Regions from separate parts of the Homo sapiens genome. Here region 2 is linked to region 1. Evidence: promoter capture Hi-C in human tissues and cell types (Jung and others, 2019). All regions are on one chromosome and are shown on one strand. Each heading gives the region's core, a stretch centred on a gene start or on the middle of the fragment in contact. The rest is flanking DNA. Distances are from core to core; before and after follow the strand shown.

Region 1 (6,648 bases), core at 1,442-3,941:
TCGAACTCCGAAATGTATTACCAGTCACACCGTAGCAGATGACAGCGTTCCGGAAAGGGTGTGGCTTAGAGAAATAGAAATTAGGCAAGGGGTTTCCTGCAAAGCCAAATGATCCAATTTTTTTTTTCTGTCCCTTGGAAGGCCAGTGAGTCTCCAAAATAGAAATGAAGCTCCCTAGGGCTGGCTTCAGTCATACTCCTGGATTGCTAACTGCTGACATGTGTTTTTAGGAAGATCGTTGCTAGTGGAAACAGCTTCAGGCAAGTGGCAGCACCCAAGATTCTCATGTGACCCCTGCACAATTTCTGGAGGAACATGACTTTACCAAAAACAATAAATGAAATCTCACATCCATATGTTTCAGTCAAGTTCAAGGGACTATTTTGTTGGCCTGAGACCCAGACTGAAATAAAATTTTTTTTAAGATTTGGTCAACATTATAAAATGAAAAAAGTAGATAATAGCTGCTCAAATTGGGCACCCACCTACAAAACAAATAATCTACCACTAAAGTCACAGTTTGTATTTCAGGTTACTTGATTTTTCAGTAAAATGTGTCAACAAGCATATTCTTCAAAATAGGAAGCCAAATGGCAAATGGTTGGATAACCGGAAAATTAAGGGATTGGTCTGCAAGCAAGCGAAGGCCATTAAAACCTTATGCGCTGTAGACACAGCCTTTGAGCCACACTTTTTCTTGCACTGGACTCATGCATAGAACAATTTGAAATACAGAGACTACAGATATGCATCTAACAGCACACTGGGCACATGTATTATGTTCCTTGTTGCTAAAGGGTTCGGCAAGATGTAGTTCCTTTTGTAGTAGTGTTCAGAGGGAGGTAAATAATGTCAGACCACTGGGCTCTGCACAGTGGGGCAATAACTTTCATGCTAAGCCCATCTGTAGAGGATATGTTTCCATAGTTCCTGTGAAACTTAGGTGGAATTTGAATGGCTGTTGAAGGACACGCCAAGGAGGGAAGTGTGGTACAAAATAATTTCCTATCAACATTGCTTTGTGTCATAGGAATCAAAGAAAGTATGAAAATCAGGAGACAGACTTAAACCCACAAGGCTTTATTCCCAGCTGAAATCTGGGTTTACCTTGACAGAATAAGGTGATGAGAAGCATCAGGATGTTGAAAACTGGGCCCCCAGATATCTCTGTGGAATGCATTAACTTTCAGCTAATGCTCTAGAGAAAGAGCTTTGTAGCTCACCCCAAATGACAATTAGCATCACTCATCAAAGAAAGCACAGGCATGCTCACTTTATGGGAAAGCAGCGAATGCTCATGAGAGGGAGATGACTGACTTGAGTACCCCTGGAAAGAAATTAGCCCACACAGTGTTTATGAAACACTTGATTTACACCCTCGTGGCACTAACTTGGCATCATATCGAGGGGAAGGATTGGCTTCCTAATTTGAGATCATCTGTGGAGGAAGTAATGAAGTGGGCCCGAGGTGTCGGGGAAGAGGGAGCACGTTATTTCAGACGGAAATGATCGCATTCCTTTCTCACATCTCCCCGGATCAGTCTGTGAGAGACCCGCATCTGGGCCTCATTAGCCATCCAGTGCGCGGCCTCCAGCTAGCAGCGGAGGCGTCTACACTACCCTCCTTTCCTCTGCATTGTTTCCCACGACCCTGAGCCTTATCACAACCTGGGTGTGGCCACCAGGGAAATGCTATTTGGCTCCTTACAGAACAGGATGGATTCCCTGTTCTGTCTGCATAGGCCAGGCAGTCCGGATGTAGGGGATGTGAACATCTGTGTTTTAATAGGGGTTCACTTGAGACAGTCCCCTTCTATTCTGGGAAAATTCAGAACTGTATCTGAGGATGTTGCCTCCAGTTATGCTCAGAACCCTGCTGTATTCCGGGTTCTTGTCAGGTTGGCCTAGGAAGGGCAGGCAGGTGAGGCAGGAACGCATCGATGTGACAGAATTTGTTTCGTCATGAAAAAGAAGCCTCTCTGGATTAAGCCAGAGGAGGTTTGTGCCCCATAAATTACCACTCAAGGCTGATCACGCTTGAGGTCATGTGACCAAATAGCGCCTCATCTTACTTCACTCCCAGCACCCCTTGCCCCATGCAAAGGCCAAGGCTTATGTTTCAGACCTGCCTCCTGCCCTGCTGCCTTTGCAGTTTGTCACAGCAGAGAGCCAAAAAGGCACTTATTGTTGATTGTTCCTTATAATTAGAGTGCCACATAACGGTGTGGGGAACATTTTCAGGCCGGTATCACCCTGTCCTTTTCTACTAAAAGCATTGTGGAGGTAATTAAAACGTATTGTGGTGTCCCCTCTGTTTTGAGAAGTGGGTGTTTTGGCTCTCAACTCAGGCCTGGGCTCTGAAACTTACAAGTTGTGGATGTTGCACAAGTCGTTTAACCTTTCTTCTCTTCTTTCCTCATCTCCAGAGGGAATATGCTAAGAGTAGCCACCTCATAGGGATGCTGTGTGGATTAAACAAAGTGAAGCACTCCCCATGGTGACTGGCACGTAGTAAATGCTCAGTTAAATAAATGCTACTCCATTTGCTATTACCAAGGCAGGTTGCAAAATGTTTGACTCAGGTAACCCTTTGAGAAGAGAGTCGTCTTTGCTTTTGAATTCTTTAAGACATTTGTACCTACAAAGGGGAGACTGCACTAAATGATCTGGGTAGGGTAGCTTTCAGCTCTGCTGTGTTCTCATCAGTTCTGACCACAGGGGTGAAGGAGGAAGGCTGCGCATAAGACATTGTGCAAGGTGCATGCAAGAGCTCCATAAATGGTACTTCTAGCTGTTGTTATCTGTTATCTTGATCATTAGGAAAGGAAAAGGCAAATGGGAAGAAAGTAAACAGATGCTCAGCACCTTCTATGTGATAGCACTCTGCTAGGTGTTTCTACATTTGTTACCTTCCATTCCCCTCACTCACCCAGCCCCCAGTGAGGTGAAATGGTGTTGCCTCCATTTTTCTGATGAAGTGATTTATTCAACGTCACACAGCAAATAAGTGAGCTGAAATTTGAACTCGGATCTGATTCCAGATTCCCGGAAAAACTGTAGAAATATGCAGTTCCTTGCCTGTCCCCTCCCCCTTACCCCACTTTCCAGCAGCTTCCCTCCTGTGGGCCGTGCTGAAGCTGGCATAAATTTCAAAACAGCTCATTCTTCCTGCTGGACAGGCCACAAGTAAGATGCATCATAATTAGCTGTGTCTGATTGCCCTCCTGTTGTCCTAAGCTGTAGCCCCTAATTGTATGGTGGTGAGGGTTTTGCTACGGCTAGTTTTATCATTTTGACAGTTTGCTAATAAAAGGTCATCACAGGTACAGAAGCACTCTGATTTACATATGGCAAGTAAAAGGGCTTATGGGAAGTCAGCATCCAAGGTAGGCCTGTGCATTTGTTGCTATTGACACCCATGCTGAGATTCCATAATTGACAAGAAATGCTATTATTAAGCAGGTCTGTTGAGATAATTAGCACTCAGGGTTGCATTTTTAATCGGACTTGAGTCAGATAATTTATCACAGCAGTAGCAAGCTGTCAGGGTCACACAATAAATACTCATTAAGGCTGAATAAAGATTAACTGCAGGCTGAAAGAAAATTAGGCGAAGTAGTAACATTTGATTTTAATATTTACAGTGCTAATTTGCACTGATATTGGCAAAAAGATCACATCCCCAAATTGAGCTCATTTATGAAGGAAAAAGGGAAGGGATGCTATGTTGAGATGCCTGAGTGGGAATCTTTTTAAAGCTTGAAATCTTATTCCTAATTGATTGCCAAAAATATTAATTTCGAAAGGCTCATTTGGTGCAGCTATTCTAGGAGCTTTGGTATCTCTGCATTAGTAAAATGACAACTCCAAACAGAAATTGTGCATCTTGAAGGCGTGCCTAATTTGTTAACATTAGTCAGATACTGCACTTTTAATTTAATGCAACTCACTTGTCTTTGTTCATACATGGGCAGTTTATGGCACTTCAAGTTAATTAAAAACACCTACCATTAAAACATGCAACATCTTTAAAGGAAAAAGGAAGTCATTTCAGGCCACTATATTACCAGGCCAAGACATTTATGTACTTGCTTATAATTTACAGTATACTAAAGATAGGGAACCAAGTGAGAACATTAGTATTTATGAATACAGTAAATTTTGTTGACAAAACCAGTGTAAAAGTTCAGATACAGAATCCACAGTAAATGTGCAGTTTGTTTATTGGACTGAGAGGCTTAGATTTTAATGGAAAATTAATTTTAAGGGCTGCTGCGCTGGTGTAAACCCCTTCTGATCGGAGACCCAAGACCCAGGCCGCCTCCACCCAAGTACGCCACCCACCCAAGATGCAGCAGTCAGTCGTTCTCGTGGACTGGTTGGCATCTCAGTGCTGTCATCAGACTTGAGGGATTTCAGCCAAATCAGCAGCATCATCAGAGAGCTTTTGTTCAATGCCTAATTGTGCCTGTAGTCGTTCTCTGTGAAACCATGCGGGCTGACTGCTGAGACGGCATCTGGGCATGTGTGTGTGCTGTGTATTGGAAATGCAGGCTGTAGAATAAGATGCATTACACTGAGGCAGAAGGACTGTGAGGTGAGTCTGGGTCACAGGGTGCATGAAGGAGCTAGAGTCAGGAGGAGCCAGGGTAAGGCTGATCACGGGGGGTGGCGGGGAGAGCACCCCCCACCACCACACCGCCGTGACCCGGCCCTGTGAAAGATAGGAGAGCAGAAAGGTGTCACCTTCTTCACCAGCCTTTCCAAGAAACTTATCTCAAAACTAAACATGAAGAGGCCTTTGTGTTCCAGGCTCACTGAGAATGGTACCGGGGGCATGCTCAGGGCTGGCGCAGCACTCTGTAGGGAGCAGGTGAGAGGAGGGCAGCAGGCAGGAGCCGGGTTTCTTCTTCCCAGAAGACAGGGAGCTGCTCACTGCTGTGCCGGGGCTCCTGGCCAACACCTGCAGTCTGGCCCTGCTGCCTGCCTCAGTCCTCAGAACCCTCCTCACTGGCCACGGCAGCCGTGGAATGGTTTTCAACCACTGTTAGCAAGCGGCAGGGTCACTTACATGCAAAGAGGAAAGCAGAGCCCCAGATTCCAATGTGTTCATCCCAATAAACATCATGTGTAGACCCCGTGATGAGAACCGAGGAGTGAAAACCATCTGAATTCTGAAGGGGTTTCTCATGAAGTGGAGAGACAGACCATGAGTGAGTGTGTTATAAAACCAGTCTCCCTATTGCGAGTGCCCAAGAAAAGCAACACATTAGGGTTGCTGATGGCAAGGTCGCATTTGGCTTGTGGCCTTACATACAGGGTCTTCCCCCTCTAGGAGGCCACAGCCATTTCTTCCCTACACTGGCTCATTGCTGAAGTTGCCATCCAAGGGGCATGGAGAAGGAAAAAAGCCTGAGGCCATGGATAACTGGCAGGTGGGACAGGGCACAGGGGCCATCTCACCCCAGGGACACACAGCTCATCCCCTTCTCTCCAGATCCAGGGGCCTCTAAAACTGGCTTGGGGCCCTCAGAGTATTGGGGGTATGGCAGGACCTGGGAACCACACCCTGCAAAGGAAGCAAGGCCTCCCTCCTGTCCTGTTGCCTCCCCTGCCACAGTGCTGCTTCTCAGCCTGCTACTCAGTCCTTCCCACCCCCAGCTGTGATTTCCACCTATTTTAGCTTAGCTGACTATCAGTTCATCTTTGCTGAGCTGTGAGATAACTAAAGGTTTTTTCTCCCAGGAGTTTTGATATTTTAAGCAGAGAATTCCTGATAACAAAACCATTCCTAAAGCTCCAAGTAATGAGCCTCTAACCATATCATTTTGAAGCAGGAAGGTTTGCTCTGTGCTCCGTAGACCTCATGGCCAGCTGCTACTTGGCTCTGCAACACAAGGTGTTTTAGAGAAATGGCCCAAGCTTCAGATTTCTTGCTAAACAGTGATGGTGGCAAAAGCGGCATCAGTCATGGAAACAAGTGAGAGCCATTCTCCCTGAAGGGGGCAGAAATCAGTATTTTCAGTTCTTTAAAACAGAATCATTATGGCCAGCCATGGTGGCTCACATTTGTAATTCCAGCACTTTGGGAGACCAAGGTGGGTAGATGGCTTGAACTCAGGAGTTTGAGACCAGCCTGGGCAACATGGCAAAACTCCATTTCTACAAAAAAAAAAAAAAAATAGCTATTCAGGAGGCTGAGGTGGGACAATTGCTTGAGCCTGGGAGGTGGAGGTTGCAGTGAGCCATAATCATGCCACTGCACTCCAGCCTGGGCAACAGAGCCAGACCGTATCTCAAAAAATCATTAAAAGCAACCAACCAACTATTAACAATAATGGCTGCTACTTACTGAATAGCTATTACCAGGCACCATTTGAAGCACTTTGCATTGTATTCATTCAATCCTCACAACTGTATTATTCCCATTTCACACATGAGGTAACTGAGGCACAGAGATAAGTACCTTGCCCAAGGCTGTAGCACCAGTGAGGTGTGAAGCTGAGTTTAATATGCCCTGGACCTCCATGAAATCGCTACAGGACAAAGAGCTAGTCAATAGATGAATGGGCCAGGACAGAGAAACAGATTTTCAGAGGATTGTAACATAGACACAGATGCTTTGGTGTTTTGTTTTTGTTGTTTTGT
Region 2 (6,648 bases), core at 3,939-6,438, 740 kb after region 1:
GGGCCGTCCCGCGCTCGCCCAGCGCCCCGGCTGAGTGACCCGCAGGTCACTTCCTGGGTGGCACGGGCCCCTGCAGTCCAGCAAGCCGGTGTCCCCCGCGGGCTGGCCGCGCACTGCGAGAAGGCGTTTCCTCCTTCCAGCCGAGCCCTTCACCAAGCTCCCTCTGCTTCTAACGCATGCTCCGGTCCTTTCCGCGAAGGCTGTTTCCAGCTCCAGTGAAGAGCGATCAGTGGCACTGTCGGGGAAAAGAGCTCTTCCACCACCACGGCCGCTGCCGCGGCTGCCGCCGGCTTCGGAGTCACTTAGGCCTCCCAGAGCCGAGTTTTGGAGGACGGAGTTTGCGCCAGCTCTGAGGAGTCCGGGCGCGGCTGGCCAAGGCTCTGCAGTGGGAGATGCTCCTCATGGGAGTCTGGAACCTGGTTGTTCTGAAATGGTGTGTGTGGGGTGGAGGTCTCCTTGCTCAGGGACTCTCTGGGGGAAACAAGGCAGGGCTGTACTCAAATTGGAGTTTTCCTTGGGCTCCTGCCGTCTTTTCTGAGTCCCTGTGCACTAGTGGCTTTGTGGTACCTGAAAAAACAAAACAAAACAAAAAACTCTACAGGCAGCAGGAGAGCTGCTCCTCCAAAAACCTGCTGTCCTTGAGATCCACCCCATGAAGGGATCTTAAAGGCAAAGTGGGGGTCCCTGTAGATCTTCCTGGACCTTGCACTTCCACTTTCACCATGTTAACATTTGGTCACCACAGTGACAATAGCCCAAAACTATCCCACAGCCTCAAGCCTTTTACTGCCTTATTATTGTTTCAAATGCACAAAAATCTGGAACAAAAGGTTGAGTGAGTGACTCGATGCACCATTTCCCTGTCCGCTGGCCAACTTCAGCCCAGATCTCAGGACCTACCAACCCTTTCCCCTTAAGAAAGAGGGTACAGCTTCTACCTGATGGGGACACTCAAAATTCCCTCCATAAGCAGAGCAGTCCCCCACTTGCTCCTTTCCCAAATGATCTGCTCAAGTTTGGCTTCAGAGGTGCTACACTGTTTGACGATTTCGTCTTTTCTCTTTCTCTCTCCTCAGCCCCTCAACCAGTTTTTCCTCTGGATCTTTCTTCCTTTGCCATTATCTCTGTGCCCCAGCCCACCTAGGGTGGGAGAGAGAGGGTTAAGATGTTCTGCAAAAGTGGCTTGTAAAGCTGCTTGGATACATTAAAAGCACATGAATATCCTGAAATACAAAGTGTCTTTAGAATCAACCAAGGAATGTTTATCCTAGTGCTGGATGGATGCAAAGAAATAGTGCCAGGGAGCAGTGCTGACAGCCTCCTCAGAGTTAAAGTGAGAGCAGGTAAATTTCATTTGCTAATGAAAATCAAGCTCGATTAAAACCTGGTTTCCCTTTTTCCTTTTCTTCTCCAATGCTGGGAGCCCAGAGCCGCGTGGACCAGGCTGGCATCCAGTTCCCCACCCAGAAAAACCTAGCTGCGGTTTTTTTCTTCAGTGAGAGGTTTTTGGGCAACCAGTCCCTGCAGGGCACCCTGGCCTACCCCAGGAAGTAAGAAGCCTTGTCAGCCAAGGCATTTTGGAACACTGAGAAAGGCTCTGGTGATTCCTGAAATAAAGGCCGTGCTGCAGAAACTACCCTCCGGTCCTGCCTGCACTGCCCTCTCAGGGCTCCTCCGGGGAAATCAGTGCACCAGACAGTACCTGGGAAGTGACTGCAGCCTCTCCCACCTCTCCCACCTCTACTCATGCAGCCCTCTGCTTGGCTGTCATGCCTAAGGTGCCACCGCTGCCGGCCGATCCTAGTGGGTGCCCTGGCTTCCCCAGTCTAACCCAGGAGGAGCCTGAGAATATAAAATTATCAGGTTGAAGGTGCCTCTGCAATCCTATAGGAATTCCTGAGCCTGGAGAACAAAAAATCAGAGGGACAGACAGCTCAGAAGATCAGGACCCACTACCTTGGCAGGCAAGCAAATCTTGACCTTGCCGTTGGGAAAAGAGGAAAAATGCTAGGAGGGTCTGTGCTTGCTTCCCAGAGCACACCCGTCTCAATCGTCCTCCAAACTTTCTTTTGCCACAGCAAGTCAGTTTGTTGGCTGCCTGGCAGGGAAAGAAATCATATTGGGAAACATTAATAAATATCTTATCTCCCTTAGCAGAAGACAGGGAAGGAAGATTATTCTTGCTTAAAAGTGAGTAGAAATTCTGAAACTCAGACCCAAATTATTCAGAGCTCGTTCTCCTTCTATAAACGACCTCCACTGATTGGTGGCTACAACTCAATACTGACAGGACATGCAGACATTTGAAAACAGTGGGGCATGCCAGGACGCCATGGACATGTCTGGTAGAAAAATAAGATACATGTTGAGATCCAAGACAAGAAGAGAACAAGCAGGGTGCCTTCCTCTAAATAAGCATGTCTTGAGAGGGGTTTTTTTTTTTTTTTTTTTTTTTTAATGATAGGGACACATCGGGGAACTAAAAAAAGTCCAGATAAATTTGATCAATAAGGTGCACCATAAATCTCAAGAATTCAGTCCCCAAGCTTTTTCTTGGCGAGAGCGCCACATTTAAGGAGCAAAGCTTAATTTGAGATGCAATCCAAAGCCTTCCCCCAGCACCATCCCTCTCAGACAAACCTGCTTGTGGCTCCTCGGCCGACAGATGAAATCTTGTCTCACCATTTTTGGTGAGGAGGGACCCAGTCGTCTGTGGAGCTGAGACCCTTTCTCTGCGCGCAGGGTTCGGGGCTACGGTGAAGTGGGAGGGGGAGGGAAGAATGTGGAGCTGGCCTTGGCCGCCGTGTGCACCGGCAGCTGCGCCATGGCCAGAGGTGAGCTGGCACAGGCGCCGGCTAGTGGGGGCTCCCCAAGCTGTGTTTTCGTTTTTCCGGGTCTGGCCGGAAAACCGAAGAGGCTCAAAGCCCTGGCTGAGCAGGGCGGAGGCAGAGAAGAGTCGGTAAACACCGCCCCAAAAACCCCACGAAGGCACCAAAAAATTCTGGGCAGCCGAACAGAGTCAGAGGCGAGAATTTTAAAAAGAGAGAGAAAATTAAGAGTGAGGGGATGTGGGCAATGGGCCTTTTGCTGCTGCCTGTGTCTCTACGCTCGCATGGCAGTTCTCATGCTGGCTGGACTGCAACTTTCAACTTGACCTTGGCCTCCAGCCGTGTCTGACCAGTATGTAAAACCGCCTTCAAGTCCCCAGGAACAGGGGCCTAGAACCCTACTCTGTCTCTTTGTCACTGTGAGTTTTACAATGCCACTTGGAGGGAGGAAGGGGGGTGGTGAAACGGCCAGAAAGTAACAGAAAAATCAAGTCCCTACAGAGGCTAGTTCCTGAGTCTGCAAATGGCCAGTCAGGGAGAAGGTAAACTGGGGGCAAATCAATATTTACCCAGAACTGCTAAAAAGTCAAGAAGGAAAGGGCACACTTGGTGGGGGGGTGGCTGGTGTGGGGGTCATAGAAGGTTTTATTGGGCGACACTTACATTGGTCAGGACAAATCCAGGATCAGGACAGATAAAAGCCCAAGCCCAGCCACATTGGTCTGGATCCTGCAGGAAGCCCAGGGGCCTTAGACAGCAGATGGTGGGGTGTGTGTGAGGGGTGGTATGCGTGCTGCTCTGAGTTTAGGGCTGAGTGTGCAAGCTAGGAGCAGAGGACAGGTCCAAGCCTGGCTTCTCACCAGTCCGCCTGGGGTGGAAAAGAATCCAGCACTCTCCCCAGCACTATTCCGGTAATGTGCCCACTTTCACTTTGAACGCTTGTTCCTCTTCTAGGCATCTGACCAGCTCACAGTAGTGAATCAGGAAGTGGAAGTATGTGGCTCTAAAGCAGCAGGACCCCCAGAACCCCTCGACAAAACATGGCAGCTACAAGACGGGTCGCTGCTTGGTTCTTCAGCACCAACACCCTACCATGCTCCCAAGAAAAGGTTGCATTTCCCAGGCACAGAGGAAAGGCTTCTTGGACTGGTTCTTGGGCAAAGAAGGACTAGGCACCCTCTGCAGGCTGGAGATCCTACTTGAGGGGAAGGCAGGAAGTGGCCCCAAAGAGCCCCTTTTTCTTGTCCCAAAATAGAGTGAAATAGCGGGTTCCCAGATTCCTGGAGAGTCAGGTCCGGTCCACAAAGAAGCGTGGCTTTAGGGCCCAGAAGGGGGGTTTAAGTCCCAGCCAGAAGCACAGCTGGGGCTTGTTCCTCTTAAGCCCCTTCCAGAACTAAGCCAGCCATACTGGCGAGGTGGGAGCATGGATGAATGGTGCACAGGGATCGCTCGCTCTATCTCAAAGTCTCTGGAGGAGGAAGCGTTGTTACCAGGTCAGAGCAAGGATCAGGCTGTATACCTAAGTGTGCGAATGTGAGTGTGTCAGTGTACACTGTGTGTGTGTGTGATGAGTCGTTCTGAGTCTATGGGTCTAAATGCAAACATATGAAATTGCTCACTAACAGTGTGGACAGGGAAGGGATAGGGGCTCCTAAATGCAGTCCAAGCCTCCAGTGGAATGTCCTGGGACCCAGGCATATCCGCAGGAACCGATAAGCAGCAAACACCCTGCCACTGTTTCCCTGGAAAGAGCAAAATCGCAACTCCATCGAAGCCGAAGGCGCCGATGTCCGTCCTGTGGTCTCACTGCAGAAATACGCGCCGGTTCCTGGAAAGAAAACAGTCCCAGAGGCTCCAAGAAACACCCATTCTGAGCTAGGCTGGTCCCGTCCTCCCCACTCTCCCATCCCTGACCGCCGGCAGAATTACCTGACCTGTCCCCACTGCTCCAGATCGCAACCCAATCGCGCGCCCACCTCCCCTCCCCGCCTGGTTGCGCGGGTCTGGGCCCCACTGGGATAAAGGAAGGGAAGGGGGGCGGAGATGGGGCCGCCTTCCTTCCCTGCCCCACCCGCACGTTCCTCCGCCTCTCCCCCGGGTGAATGGTGCGCGGCCGCGCGGCTGGCGCTGGGGACGGCGCGGGCCGCGGCGGGGACGACGGGTGCACCGTGCAGAGCTGGAGTCGGAGCCGCCCGCTTTGCATACGCCGTGGGCGGAGCGGGGGGGCCGGGCCAATGGGCGGCCGCCTGGCGCGACCCCGCGGGGCGCGATCCGCCCCCCTCGCTCGGGCCCCGGCCCCGCGCCGCGCGCTCTTCACTTCTTGGGGGCTTTTTAAAACAGCGCCACTGGGGTCTTCTCCATGCGGCTCGGGCTATGACAGCCTCCGTGCTCCTCCACCCCCGCTGGATCGAGCCCACCGTCATGTTTCTCTACGACAACGGCGGCGGCCTGGTGGCCGACGAGCTCAACAAGAACATGGAAGGGGCGGCGGCGGCTGCAGCAGCGGCTGCAGCGGCGGCGGCTGCCGGGGCCGGGGGCGGGGGCTTCCCCCACCCGGCGGCTGCGGCGGCAGGGGGCAACTTCTCGGTGGCGGCGGCGGCCGCGGCTGCGGCGGCGGCCGCGGCCAACCAGTGCCGCAACCTGATGGCGCACCCGGCGCCCTTGGCGCCAGGAGCCGCGTCCGCCTACAGCAGCGCCCCCGGGGAGGCGCCCCCGTCGGCTGCCGCCGCTGCTGCCGCGGCTGCCGCTGCAGCCGCCGCCGCCGCCGCCGCGTCGTCCTCGGGAGGTCCCGGCCCGGCGGGCCCGGCGGGCGCAGAGGCCGCCAAGCAATGCAGCCCCTGCTCGGCAGCGGCGCAGAGCTCGTCGGGGCCCGCGGCGCTGCCCTATGGCTACTTCGGCAGCGGCTACTACCCGTGCGCCCGCATGGGCCCGCACCCCAACGCCATCAAGTCGTGCGCGCAGCCCGCCTCGGCCGCCGCCGCCGCCGCCTTCGCGGACAAGTACATGGATACCGCCGGCCCAGCTGCCGAGGAGTTCAGCTCCCGCGCTAAGGAGTTCGCCTTCTACCACCAGGGCTACGCAGCCGGGCCTTACCACCACCATCAGCCCATGCCTGGCTACCTGGATATGCCAGTGGTGCCGGGCCTCGGGGGCCCCGGCGAGTCGCGCCACGAACCCTTGGGTCTTCCCATGGAAAGCTACCAGCCCTGGGCGCTGCCCAACGGCTGGAACGGCCAAATGTACTGCCCCAAAGAGCAGGCGCAGCCTCCCCACCTCTGGAAGTCCACTCTGCCCGGTAAATGACGACCTATTCCCAGCCCTGGTCTTCCGGCTCTGCTCCAGCTTCTTCTCCGCTCGCACCCGGGCGATCCCGGGTGCGTTTCTGTTCTCTTCCTGGTCTGCCCTAGCGGCTCTGCACCCCTGGGAGCCCGAGCATGGCTGGCTGGGTCTGCCTGCACTGCCTCGAGTTGAGCTGGTCCCTGGCTCTCCCTGGGTGAGGGGTGGCTTGTGGAGACCTCGGCTAGCTTCCCTCTCCCTCTGCGCCCCGCCCTCCCCAGCCCCTGACACCAATTTAAGGATGAGAAATTGACCAGAAAACAGCTCCCCAAATTGCCCCTCCCTATTCATTCTCTCAAAAATGGCTTCAGTGTAGAAGCTTCGAGTATTGGGACGGGCACCCAGAAAGGAGGCAGGCACAGAAGTGTTGTACCTTGAGCCTGGCGCTAAGGTGTGGGCCGTTGGACCAGGCTATCACTCGAGGCTGCCTACGCGCTGCTCCTGCAGGATGGCCGGGTTGGGGAAGTCACTGGAGCCCTGGGTG

Evidence for each region. Contacts are between HindIII fragments. The study calls those that stand out against the background at their distance.
Region 2: a contact is called between the fragment with the promoter of HOXA13 here and a fragment that was not itself captured in region 1, in 1 of the 25 tissues and cell types used here (dorsolateral prefrontal cortex).

What each region holds. Positions count from the first base shown.
Region 1 is chr7:27,938,340-27,944,987 of GRCh38, reverse strand. The region is part of intron 2 of JAZF1 (JAZF zinc finger 1); the gene reads left to right. Among named protein-coding and RNA genes, the nearest start is that of TAX1BP1-AS1, 200 kb to the right of the region's middle. The HindIII fragment of the contact is 7,818 bases long and covers 1-6,600 here.
Region 2 is chr7:27,198,631-27,205,278 of GRCh38, reverse strand. HOXA13 (homeobox A13) reads left to right here and starts at 5,188. Exons shown (of 2, transcript NM_000522.5): 1 at 5,188-6,123. The coding sequence starts at 5,202. It overlaps HOTTIP (HOXA distal transcript antisense RNA), which reads right to left and starts at 4,858. Exons shown (of 3, transcript NR_037843.3): 1 at 4,758-4,858; 2 at 2,641-4,656; 3 at 1-567. RefSeq lists enhancers at 1-97, 98-822, 2,317-2,841. The HindIII fragment of the contact is 6,019 bases long and covers 4,535-6,648 here.